Regions from separate parts of the Homo sapiens genome. Here region 1 is linked to region 2. The links are contacts of gene promoters, found by promoter capture Hi-C in blood cells and fetal thymus (Javierre and others, 2016). All regions are on one chromosome and are shown on one strand. The core of a region is centred on a gene start or on the middle of the fragment in contact, and the rest is flanking DNA. Distances in the headings are between cores, read along the strand shown. Region 1 holds the start of OR51V1 (olfactory receptor family 51 subfamily V member 1). Region 2 holds the start of TRIM22 (tripartite motif containing 22).

Region 1 (6,350 bases), core at 2,069-4,568, 490 kb before region 2:
GCTCTAAAATAAGCAATGATTTCTGAGGATACTCTTAGGTATTTTTTATTAACTGTTTTGTCACGGCCATTATTTCAAACTATTTTGGTTCACATTCTATAGGTTGCCTAATCTGAAGCACAAACACTCATAGTATGAAGTCTTCAGATGAGCCTTCCTACTCTCCCTGTTAAACATAACTCTCAAACCAACAACTCAGTTGTGTCAGACATGTAATATTGTTCAAATAATAAATATAAATTCATTCTGATGCTTCCCTATGAGTGGCTGGTGGAAAACATATTGTCAGTTGTTGAAGAATTCTCTGCTTCCCCAGTGTTGTGTCAGCTCTCCGGCGTATGGGAGGGTGGATGCTTATTCACTTTCAAAGCATTAGAAGGAAGCTTCTTTGGCCATTGAGAAATCTATGAGACATTCACATGACCTCTACAGATTCAGCAGCTAACTTCTCTTTTCATTATAAAACTGGGGCATAGGAATCTTGTCAGATTGGCCACATTCCAGTCGGCCAGGAGGGACCATGCAGACATTTATTATCATTAGGGAACCTGGAGCAGTACTACCACCTGACATTCATATCAACTTTTCTTTTTTTTTCTCTTTTTTTTTTTTTTTTTGAGACAGAGTCTCTCTCTGTCGCCCAGGCTGGAGTGCAGTGGCGTGATCTCGACTCACTGCAAGCTCCACCTCCCGGGTTCACGCCATTCTCCTGTCTCAGCCTCCCGAGTACCTGGGACTACAGGTGCCCGCCACCACGCCTGGATACTTTCTTGTGTTTTTTTAGTAGAGACGGGGTTTCACCATTGCTGGCCAGGATGGTCTCGATCTCCTGACCTCATGATCCGCCCGCCTCGGCAGCTACTATGATTATATAGTAAAAAATATATATATTGACATTTTCCCCTCTAGAACCTACCTCACAGTTTTCACTTCTGATAGCTATACCAGAAGATGCACTAGATCCTCTTTGACATCAGGAAATTCACTCCTTTATCCTTCAAATTAACCTTATACTGTAACCCAGAAGACCTAATTTATTGTTCTAGGAATAATTTTACACTTATCTTTCTAACCAGATACTTTACTCTGTCCAGAAACAATTTCCTCACTTTGAGGCTTAAGCTATTAGAAACCAAAGCCTGTATTTTTGTTTCCCTCTGAGTCAAATAAGTAGACAGAGGCTATGTTATTGAATGAAGTCCAAAGTGAAAGGAAAGGAAGGCATAATTACAGGAAGACAAATCTGGTTGTTTTAGTTGATATCTAAAAATAAAAATAAATATTTGCTTTTTGGTGTAAAATGACTCTTATGCATTAATTTGTCCAATTTTAACACTTACCTTCTTAGATACCTAATAGAATATAGGAAGATTAAAACAATTATTTTCTTGTTATCCATGCATAGTTTTGTACCTGATTTCCTTCCTTTCTTTCCTTCTTTGGAAAGCTGCACTAGCTTACTTAGAAAAGAACCGCTTTATGTTCTTTTATCTTTTTTCTTTTAAACTCAGAATAAGTCGGTAGCGGACAGTCTCATCTGTTCAGAAGATCCCCCACTTAGATATAAAAGCAAAAGATCTAGAGCAAAATCTGCTTCCAGCCTTGTAGCAGTGGAGTCCACATATAAAATCTAAAAAATAAGGATTCTAATTTAAATTAGACATGGTAGAAGTTGAATCCAAAGTCATATTTCTTTGTGTCCTCTTTATGAACTGTAGCTTCCCTGTCCAATATAGTGGCTGCTGAACTGAACTGTCCAATACAAGGACATTAAACATTTAAATATAAATTAACTTAAAGTAACTGAAATTGTAAATGCAGTTGTTCAATTACACTACCATCATTTCAAGCGCACAGGAGCCATATATTCCACTTTAGCCATTTTATGGTATTTTATAGAACATCGCCATCAGTTTAGAAAAGTTCCCTTGGACAATTCTGGTCCATACAGATATCACAACATTCCTGTGAGTTGGCTATAGTCTCCATTTTGAAGGTTAATTAAGTAAACCTCAGAGAATGAAAGAAACTTCAAGTTTTCTACTTTGAAACTTGAAAACCTAGGTTTTTAATCCAGCTTTGTTTTACAGCAAAGGAAATGCTCAAAAGTACATTTCAGGCAAATAAACAATTTTTTCCTCTTTCTTAAATATGGTCAGACTGATAGAGTGACCTACATGTGTCCAGGCTGACACAATGGAACTTGTTTGTTGATTCTCTGACTATATTTAAATATTTTTTAAGGTCATTTGTCATGGACTCAGAGTAAATCTACAATTTTAATAATTTTTTCTTTTTTATGGCACTGATTTTTGTTTATTATTGTTGCTGCTTTTCTTTCTTTTTTTTAGGCAATACATCTCAATATCTCTCAATATCTTTTCAGAGAAAAGAGTCTAAGCATTCTGGTATGAATCTGTTGGGTCTTGACACTGTAGATGATGGGATTCATTAAAGGTGGGAAAAGGATGTAGATGTTGCCAATGAGAACGTGGGCCACGGGGGAAAGGTGCTTGCCAAAACGGTGCACCATTGTGAGGCTAATGATAGGGATGTAGAACACAAGGACAGCACAGATGTGGGAGATGCAGGTCTGAAATAATTTATGCCTCTCTTCCTGAGAGGCAACTGCCAGGACTGACTTAAGAATCAGGATGTAGGAGAAAAGGATGAGTATAGCATCCAACAACAGTATGCAAATAACCAGCATCAGGGCATAGTAACTATTGAATCGGATGTCTGAACAGGCTAAGCGGAGAAGATCCTGGTGCAGGCAGAAAGAGTGAGAAAGGATGTGGAAATGACAGTAATTAAAAAATTTCAGACAGATGATGGGGGGTGTAATAAAGAAAAAACTCCTACCTATTATAGTGAGCCCAATTTTGATAATTCTGGAATTAGTCAGGATGGAGGAATAACGTAGTGGATTGCAAATTGCAATGTACCGGTCAAAGGCCATAGTGAGGAGGACAGAGGACTCCATGAAGGACAGACCATGGATGAAATAGGACTGGGCAATGCAGGAATCCAAGCTGATCTCTCGAATGATCCCCCACAGGATCCCCAGCACTGTGTACACAGTGGACAGCCCCATGCACAGGTCAGTGAGGGCCAGCATGGACAGGAAGTAAAACATAGGCTGGTGCAGGCTTGGCTCAGTCCATATCACATGGAGAACCATGCAATTGCCCAAAAGCACCATGGCATAGATTGAGGAGAAGGGGATGGAAAGCCAGGGGTATTGCTGCTCCATGCCAGAAAATCCAGTGAGAAGAAAGGAAGAATTCGTGCTGGTGCTAGGGCTTACTGAAGTAATCATTCTGGAACTGAGAAACATGTGAGAGTATTTTTTCAAAGGAAATGTTTCAATTTCACCTGAATACAATGAAATTTCTAAGTAAATGAAATACCCTAAAACTTACTGACTTAAAAAAAACAGCTGAGAAATTCTGTTTCTTTGAGACATAGTATCCATTGCCTTTGAGAAAATGGTCTTCTTTTGATGTCATTTAAAAGTCATTATTTTTTCACTGTCTGGATGTGAACATATCCTTAGAAGCCATAAGCAAAAACAAATAAGGAAGAGATTAGTAAAAGGAGAAGGCTAGTTTTAAAAAAATACGTTGCTTAGACATTTTCCCAAGGATAGTGGTAAAAATTTTATACCAGTAAAGAGCCGAGGTTCTTGAAAAATTATTTTCTTCTCTCCAATTCATTAAACATTCGAAGTGAAGAGTAATCTTTGGGCTTTAAATATCATAAGTCTATTAAATAGTCACTTTTCCGTCATTTTCCATTTTGTGCCGTCTCCAAGTATATTTTTTCTCCAAATACTATTTAATGAAGATACTCCTGTTTTCTCCCCCTCCAGATGACGTAGCCAGCAATTACTTTTTCTTCATTGGTGATAAGCAGACAGGAATATTTATGCATGAGACCTTGGGTAAATGATTTCTCACTGGAGCTCTGGCCTCTTGAGATGTTCAACTCATTTGTGCCTTTGTGATGTAGAGAATTAGATTGAAGACACTGAGCCTTTGATAGCAGCTCAGTGCTTCCCATTCCTTTATTTATTCAGTTAATGAGCTGATTAACTATTTATTCAATATACATTTATTCAATGTATTGGCCAATTGTGTTTTCTTTCTTAGAACCTGCAGTTCTACAGATCACAAAGCCAGGCTCAAACAAGCAAGCTTATAATTTCAAAAGCCTCATGGTAGCAGAATCAATTGGCTTCTTCTTTACATTGTTTGCCTGCTTTAAGTTCCAGACCTGAGAATCATCATAAGTTTTTTTAAAGCTCTAATAATGTAAACAGATGTTCAAAAGTCCATACTTTCATGTTTGATTGAGTAACTTCGAGATGTTAAAGTAACTTCAGATTTGGGCTGCCCTTTATGTCCTACTTTTCAGCTTTGTCTTATTAGCCTCACAACACAGTTCCACAGACTTTCTTCTCAATGTACTCTCTATACTACACTGACGTCTTCTAGCAGTCTAACCATTGTTTTTCTTGCCCTGACTCCTTCTCAGCATTGAATAACTTAGCTCACTATTTTTAATACTTTTTTCTCCATAGAATGCTTGAAGTTTCTTCGTTTCTTGCAGAGGATTTTTCAGTCTTTTGAATACGTATCTTCTTTCATTTCTCTAAATCGAATTTCTCTTCTTTCGTAAAATTTTTCTCGAAATGTTCTATCTGCCTAAATTATTCATCATCTTTTCCTCAATTTCTTCCTACCCTTTTTAAAACGATCTTGCAACTCAACAATCACTTTTCAAGAAGTTTCTTAAGACAAATTTATCCATATATCTATTATTTTGGTATCATGTTTCAATTTTAAATAAAACTTATAATTTTGTATTTATTAGCTAAATATTTAACTAATATTTAAACTAAATATTTAACTAATATCTCTGTTACAAACTAAATTCTCAGTTCCTTAATGTGCAGACTATGTCAACTTTTTCTTATTATTTGAAACTAACATTTGCACCTCTGATTCCTGACCACTCCTGAGAGCTCAAATTCATGAATACAACTGGCTATTTAATATATTCATCTGAGTGTTTAATCTTAAAATAAGAATGATGCCAATAAAGTACTTGATTTTCCCCCCAAAATCTATTTTCTGTCCCTTTTCTCCTAATATTATAAAGTGACTCCACCAATAACACAATTGCATAAGACAAGTCTTGAGTCATTTTTAAAATTTTTTATTTCTCTCTTTCCTTCCCTTTCCTCTCTCCATCAAATCTTTCATCAATTTCTACCATTTCTACCAGAAACACATCCCAGATAGGCCCACTTTTACACATTGCCCGTCTTGGTTTATAATATCATTGTTTCCCTGGCTACTATGATAATTTATTAAATTAATAATAATTTAATATTATTACTAGCTAATATCATGATTTATCTGTTTGTCCTCTAAAAAATGTATTATCTCCAGGGAAACCAAATTGCTTTTCTACAAACATCTACTAAATCACACAAACCTTTGTTGAAAAAACTCTTTGATGGTCACTTACCCATTGCTCGTAATGTAAAATACAAATTCTTTATCATAGTCAAAAAGCCTTGTATAACGTGGCTCACCTGCCTCTTCTATTACATCTTTAGACCACTACTGCCTACACTCCTTAATATTTAGGTATCTTTATCTTCCTCAAAACAAGCTAAGTACATGCATGTCTCAGGATCTTTGCCCATGGTCTTCTCTGTGCTCCGAATTATCTACCCCAAGTATTTGCACAGCAATTCCTTTCACCATTAACTTTTGAGTTAAAATGATTACTTCCTCAGGGGGATTTTTCTAATACTGCTCCCCACCTAGATTATCTCATTTCTTCAACCCCCTTAACTAACTTACTCTCATCACAGTATACTAGTTTATATTTATACCACTTATTATACACTGAATTTCCATTAGATTCATTAGAGGCTGTAGAAGATTAGGAACCATATCTGTTTTTTGCTCAAGAATATGAAAAATAAGGGTTAGCATAGAATGGGCACTTATCAAATAATTTTTAATTAATTATTCTATGAAATAAGAGCTAGACAATCACAGAGATATAAAGATAATATGAATGTGAACACTCCTATCAAAGTGTGTGTAAAATCATCTGTGTACACTTAGTCTTTTCTGACCTTTGGCCACCAATTGAGTCATCATATACCAAGTTTGAATGGTTTATAAAACAGATGCTGCTCCAGGGATCTTGCTGACCTTGAATACAACACTCCAATTTCAAACATGATTTCTCTCATTTCCAGCCTGACTCAGACATATCGTCAAGGATCTGGGATTGATCACAAAAGATTTAATATTCTGTGAATGTAG
Region 2 (7,038 bases), core at 2,663-5,162:
GACTCCGTCTCAAAAAAAAAAAAAAAAAAAAAAAAAAAAAGAAGTTTATCTGGAGAGCGATAAAGAAATACCACATTATTTCTTTCAACTATTCACTTTCAAAGAACTCTCCAACTTCCCGCTGTTGTCTTTTCCAAAGTATCTATTGCATCCCTGAGCAGGGCCAGGCCTTCCTCTCTCTTCTCTTCTGGTTACTATGCAAAACTGGTCCAAAAGGCTGAACTGTGGTCCATGTACCATAGCCTCCCTTCTAAGCTTTCCCTTACTGGAACATCTCAGGAAGTCCACACTGGAACTAGGATCATTGGTAGAGAGGAGTATTTAGTTTGAAAATGAAAATGCCTCAGGAGAAGGCAATGGGGAGCACTGCAGTGGGCAGCCTGTTATCACTTAATTCCATCATCAGTAACCTCATACCCCCTCCACACTGTACCCCCGCAGCTTTCTGTTTCATGAAATCAGGTAGGGGGCTTTTGCATTTTGTTCTTTATTGTCTCAGATTTACTAGAATATGGTGTATATAAGGAGTAATATTTAAATAGATATGAAGATATATAGCTATTAATCTAATTTTAATTGAATATCTTGATGTCACATTTCTGTTCTATTCTTGCTGTAAAGATAACTGCTGTGTCACCTAGTTTAATTCAAATATTCTTCTGGCATTAGTAATAATTATGTGGCAGTAATAATTATAGTAATAATTATAATAATTAGTATTATTAATAATTACAATTATTAATAGTTACAATTATAATTAATATTACTAATTGTTATTTAGTAATAATTATGTGGCATTAGTAATAATTATGTAATGATTACATTTGCAGTGGCTCACACCTGTAATCCTCGCACTTCGGGAGACCAAGGCGGGTGGATCACTTGAGGTCAGGAATTTGAGACCAGCCTGACCAACATGGTGAAACCTCATCTCTACGAAAAATACAAAAATTAGCCAGGTGTAATGGCAGATGCCTGTAATCCCAGCTACTCAGGAGGGTGAGGAAGGAGAATTGCGTGAACCCGGGAGGTGGAGGTTGAAGTGAGCCGAGATCATGCCACTGCACTCCAGCCTGGGCAATAGAGTGAGACTCTGTCTCAAAAAAAAAAAAAAAAAAAAAAAAAAAAAAAAAAAAAAAAAGTAATTATGTAAATTTTTAAACAAATTTTAAACGATTTTTTAAAATATCCTCTCTGTTTTCTTCCTAAGTATTATTCAGACTCTAACCATATTTACTCTTATTTTGCTCTTTTTCTTGAAGAGAAAAATGTTAAATATCCATGGACCCAAAGGTAGAGATATTTCATTTGATTCCTTTTCAAGCAGGAAAGCAGGATATATAAGGTTTACAGGCTGGGCGCGGTGGCTCACGCCTGTAATCCCAGCACTTTGGGAGGCCAAGGTGGGTGGATCATGAGGTCAGGAGATTGAGACCATCCTGGCTAACAAGGTGAAACCCCGTCTCTACTAAAAATACAAAAAATTAGCCAGGCGCGGTGGCGGGCGCCTGTAGTCCCAGCTACTCGGGAGGCTGAGGCAGGAGAATGGCGTGAACCCGGGAAGCGGAGCTTGCAGTGAGCCGAGATCGCACCACTGCAGTCCGCAGTCCGGCCTGGGCGACAGAGCGAGACTCCGTCTCAAAAAAAAAAAAAAAAAAAAGGGTTTACAGAGAAAACACAGAGCTCCAACAATAATATATTTTTTCTACAATTTAGAACATAGGTTAGAATATGGAGCCTGCCAACATGCTCTACTCTGGTGATAAACTGTGTGTGGTGCATTCAGTTTTTCTATTGGCCCACGTTTTCTGGTATCTTGTCAGGACCTAATATTACTACTGTTTTCTCTCAGCTGCAATTAATACTTCATGAGATAAATCAGACCAGGATGAAAGTTCACTTCAGATGTTCAAAGCCAGACGAGAATAAAAGGATGGCTATGAGATCTATGGAAGTGCTGAGAAGGGAAGAAATAATGGACAGAGAACAGGTCTCTGGATAAATGAGTTCATTCACTTTGTCCATTGTGGTTGACACTCGGACTCCACTCTGTGCACTCCAGAAAAAACACATTCACTCACTGAGCGCTCACTCCCCTACAAATGTCAACAAGATATTCTATTCAAACATGGAATATACCTAAAATTACATCTCTTGCTTATTTATCTTCAAGAAGAAATAAGAAAATTTCACGCCTGTCTTAGTCAAGGTTCATCATAGCAATAGAACCACTAAACTATGAATTTATTTGGAAAGAAACTTGAGAAATGTCTCAGGTGATTCTGGAGACTGGCAAATCCAAAGTCTGCAAGGTAGGCCAAGAGGCTCTGGATCCAAGAAGGAGTCAACGTTATAGCTCACGCCTGAGGTTTGCCTGCTGGTAATATTCCCTCTTCTCGGGGAGAAGTCAGTTTTTTCTTCTATTCTGGCTTTCAGCTGATTGAATAAGGTCCTCATAGATATAAGTGAGTAGGAAAGAATTTATAGCCAGGATTAGCTTATTATTCTGTGAGCAACAAATAATACCAAAATATCTATTATTGAAATAATAAACATTGATTTCTCAGTCATCCTACATGTGTATCATTGATTAAAGTATGAAGATGGCCATGCTCCATAGTGTCAGTCAGGGATCCATGTTATGGAAGCTCCATGAGTTGCCTTTTTTTTTCTTTTTTTTTGGGTGTGTGTGTGTATGTGTTGTGTGGTGTTTGTTTGTTTGTTTTTTGTAGAGACAGGGTCTTACTATGTCACCCAGGCTGCAGTGCTATGGTGCAATGACGCAATCTTGGCTCAATGCAACCTCCACCTCCTGGGCTCAAGCCATCCTCCCATCTCAGTTTCCTGAGTAGCTGGGACTACAGGTGCACATCACCACACCCAGCTATTTTTTTTTTTTTAATTTTTCTTAGAGATGGGATTTCACCATGTTGCCCAGGCTGGTGTTGAAGTCCTGGACTCAAGTGATCCACCCACCTGGGCCTCCCAGAGTGCTGGGATTACAGGCATGAGACACCACAGGCCTCCATCAGTTTTTGATGGCATTATCTGGCACATGCAGTTAAACAAGAATACAATAGACAACAGGGTACAGAAGTATGTGCATGACGTATAACATGTTTCAGTGCTGCTTTTTAATTGATTGTGTAAAAATGACCAAACTTTTCTTAGAGAAGCAGGGAAAAGTGGAAAAATTATGAAGGCATGAGAGTAACTCAATGAATGATTATAATTAAACAGCATCATCTGTTAACTTCCATGTTCTCACCTGCCTCAGTGGCTGGGTAACATGACACTGACACAGTTTTACCTCTATTACTCTCTGGAATCCATCCTCATCTGGTCTGTCTGGATTAGGAGCAGGAAGTGATAATTAATTGATGGACTCTTAAGATTTAATGACATTTTGAGAACATTTTTTTCAATGGGCTCACACTAAAGATCCTTTTATTTATAAAAATAATTTTTTTACCATTCACAATGTCAGCTGCTAATACTCATCTTGTCAGCCCAAATTTGTAGAGCTTTATAACTGAGTATCTTCCTCGTCAGACTGCATTTCAAGAAGCTAGGTCCCAAGTCTCTGGATCTTTATTTTCCTGGCTTAGGTCTTAAATATAAGATAAATTCGACTAATAATTATAGGACTGCATTGGAATTCTAAGTATTCAGGCAAGCTGTATAACTGTAATTCACATTCTTTTTATTCAAATATTCTTGCTTGAGTAAACCACAGTAAGAATAAGGAAGTAGTGACTGAGTGCCTTGCCAGTACAGCAGATGCTAGAACATAATGTAGCATTACTTTCCCCAGGGTTTATTGTTATGTAAGTTCTTGTTCAGCTTCCTTTGTTTTCTTTCACTTCTGAGAATTTAACTTTCGTTTCTCACTCAGCTCCTGTGGGGAAACTCATTTGTGGAGACCAGCCCTCTGGCTTGGTGAGTGAATCTGGTTTACACCGGCTCCTGCCCTGCCTTCACTCTTCTCCCCTGATTCAAGACTCCTCTGCTTTGGACTGAAGGTGAGTGGAGCAATCTGTGGGAGCATAGAATGGGAGGCTTTGAGAAGAATAGATTGATTGTGTCTGGGTGAGTTTAATTTGTAGTTCTGAAGCTGCTCTGCATAAACAAAAAGAGGCAGCTTGTGAACTGTCTGCTGAGATGGCAGAGGAAGAAAGCACTGAGTCTGGGAGAGGGGTAACCTTTAAAGAAGAGAGGTTTGCAAAAGCAAAAAGCCTTGCTTGTTTCCTAGAGGGACCATTCATTTCTTCAATCTAGGTACCTCCATCACCTTCCTTGTTGGAAATAAAGCTCAGAATCTTAAGGGAGACGAGCACTCAAACAAAGGATTTCTCAGCAAAGCAATTTTATTTCTGTGCAGAGGGGTGCTTCTTCTTTGCCAGTCGCCATGAGAGCACACTAGAACAAAGGAGGAAGAAAGTTTTTATTCCTGACGCAAATCCTACCCCTTTGCCCTTTCCCCATTGGCTGGAGTCGGCCACACAATCTAAACTAGACTCAGTTGGCTAAACATTTTAACTTTCTTTAGATAAGGTGGGCACGTGAGGGAGAGAGGGGAGATGGGGAAGGGGTGTGTGTGATGAGCTAGATAACTAATCTTCTTCCAAAATAAGGAAAGGAATGTGAGTTGGTACTGATAACGCCTGGTACTGTGACATGTCTAGGCATGTAGCAAAAGCAGAAAGGAAAGAGAAGAGAAGAAAAGTGAAGTGGGGAGGGGCACTGTGAATTAAAGAATAAAGGATTGATCAGGCTATTTGAAGAGAAACCTTATCATACCCCACATTCCTATTCTGTCATTTTGATTTTTCCATTTTGCCAACGTGGATCAGAATTTTCTTTTATTCAGAGGCAGCAAATTCCTTCCTCCTTTCTCCCGAAGAAGCCTGTGCAATGAAGCTTTGTTTTCACTTTTCATAAAGCAACCTCATGATGAGGTTCAGCAGGGATGAGAGCCCTTATCTGGATCTGGGTATGAGGCGAAGGAGTCTTAGGTACTCAGTCTTCAGAAGTAAGGCCCTTTTGAAGGTTATCCTTTTACTTGCCTTCTGGTAACTTTTTGGATGCTGTCCATAGCTTTCCTGATAAATTAGCAGCCCTCTGGTTAGTCCGAGGAGAGAGGCCGCAGGACGGGCAGACTGCTGCTCATCTCTGCAGCTCCACTTTGGTCTCTTGTCTCTGAAGGTCCAGTCACAGGGAACTTGTTCTTCTGAGTACCCACAGCTTACTCTTCCTTTGTAGCAGGACCAGCCACAGAAAAAACTCCTCAGACACCGAGGTAAAGAAGGAAGGGGTTTATTCGGCCAGGGGCATAGGCAAGACTCCTGTCTCAAGAGCCGAGCTCCTCGAGTGAGCAATTCCTGTCCCTTTTAAGGGCTCACAACTCTAAGGGGGTCCGCGTGAGAGGGTCGTGATCGATTGAGCAAGCAGGGGGTACGTGACTGGGGGCTGCATACACCGGTAATTAGATCGGAACAAAACAGAGTAGGGATTTTCACAGTGCTTTTCTATACAATGTCTGGAATCTATAGATAACAAACCAATTAGGTCAGGGGTCCATCTTTAACTACCAGGTCCAGGGTGTGGCCCCGGGCTGTCTGCTTGTGGATTTCATTTCTGCCTTTTAGTTTTTACTTTTTCTTTCTTTGGAGGCAGAAATTGGGCATAAGACAATATGAGAGGTGGTCTCCTCCCTCAACTTCTGTAGCACCCAATGAACCTCTGGTATCCACTCCTGTTTTAGAAGTTGCTATTATTCTAGGTACACCTTTTCATCATGAGTTACCTCAACTCCCTACTCAATTTTCCCTTGCACAGAGCTAAGGCAAGGAGTTGGTAATTTCTCCTGAGTCTTATCTCGATCTTATCGCTGAGCATTTTGTACCTTGATGCCTATGTCACCCATATTCTGATGTGTCCTTTTCTTTGTTTCACTTTTCAGAGGTCCAGGTAACTGTCTCCTTATGTGTCTGTACCGCACATCTTGTCAAGGTCCATATCTAGTATTTATTCATTGTCAAGTCTAGTACAGGACCCAATAAATAAAACTGTACTTTTAATTTTTGAAAAATATTTTTGACTAAATTCACAAAACAAAAGCATACAGGTATAGTAAAAAAACAAAAACAAAAACAAAAAAACTATCTATTCGATATATAATCAACATTAAATACCGGTAAGAGATTATGCTCTGGACTAGGGAAAAGGAAGTAAACACGCAGTCAAAAAAAGGAAGTAAACCAGCAGTTTTAATGTAGCAAAAAGGTAGCAGTTACTAGAGGATAAATGTAAAACCAATAAAACAAAAGCAACAAACTAAAAGGGCTGCAATAGGATGTGGTATCTGTAGTGCTCTTGTCAAGGGCTTTGCAACTTTAAATAGATTTCACATTAGGTCTCACTGTGAGACAATGATTTTGAGCAGTCTTCAATAAAATGATGGATTTAAGAACTGATGAACTAACTGTGAGAGAAAGAGATGACACTGGGGTAGCTTTATGAAATCTGTCCTCTGTTACAAAATGACTTATCTGAAACATATTGACCAGAGAGTTAGAACTCTTGGAAAAAGGGTCATTACTTGGGGAAAACTAAACCCTGGACATTTTAGTGGGTCATTGAAAAAGGAACTCTGAGTTTAGACAAATAAGAAGTGGTAACGGTGTTTCTGAGTTCTCCAGGTTTCTGCATGCCAAGAACAGGACCTATTTTCTCCATTGGTAGTTCCTGACCCAAGGAACAGGGGAAATTTAAAAGATGTTGGCTAGGCCAGGCACCTGGTGGCTTGTGCCAAAGCCTAGCCAAAAATCCCAGCACTTTGGGAAGCCAAGACTGGAGGACTGCTTGAGTTGAGGAGTTTGAGACCAGCCTGGGCAACGCAGTGAGACCTTGTCTCAAAAAAAAAAAAAAAAGATATTGATGGCTAAACCCCTTATAATTTTTCTCCTTATTGTGTAGCCACACTAATTTAATTTAATCTTTTTTTTTTTTTTTCTTTTGACGGAGTCTTGCTCTGTT

Evidence for each region. The method cuts DNA at HindIII sites, captures the fragments that hold promoters and counts their contacts. A CHiCAGO score of 5 or more calls a contact.
Region 1: a contact is called between the fragment with the promoter of OR51V1 here and the fragment with the promoter of TRIM22 in region 2, in 2 of 17 cell types (M1 macrophages and M2 macrophages). The highest score is 5.9, in M1 macrophages.

What each region holds. Positions count from the first base shown.
Region 1 is chr11:5,197,364-5,203,713 of GRCh38, forward strand. OR51V1 (olfactory receptor family 51 subfamily V member 1) reads right to left here and starts at 3,319. Exons shown (of 1, transcript NM_001004760.3): 1 at 2,372-3,319. The coding sequence starts at 3,319. The coding sequence ends at 2,372. The HindIII fragment of the contact is 3,813 bases long and covers 382-4,194 here.
Region 2 is chr11:5,685,878-5,692,915 of GRCh38, forward strand. TRIM22 (tripartite motif containing 22) reads left to right here and starts at 3,913. Exons shown (of 8, transcript NM_006074.5): 1 at 3,913-4,022. LOC124902620 (a long non-coding RNA gene) reads right to left here and starts at 6,877. Exons shown (of 2, transcript XR_007062561.1): 1 at 4,801-6,877; 2 at 4,350-4,419. RefSeq lists enhancers at 3,593-4,585, 3,707-4,046, 4,018-5,217, 4,633-4,732. The HindIII fragment of the contact is 4,665 bases long and covers 254-4,918 here.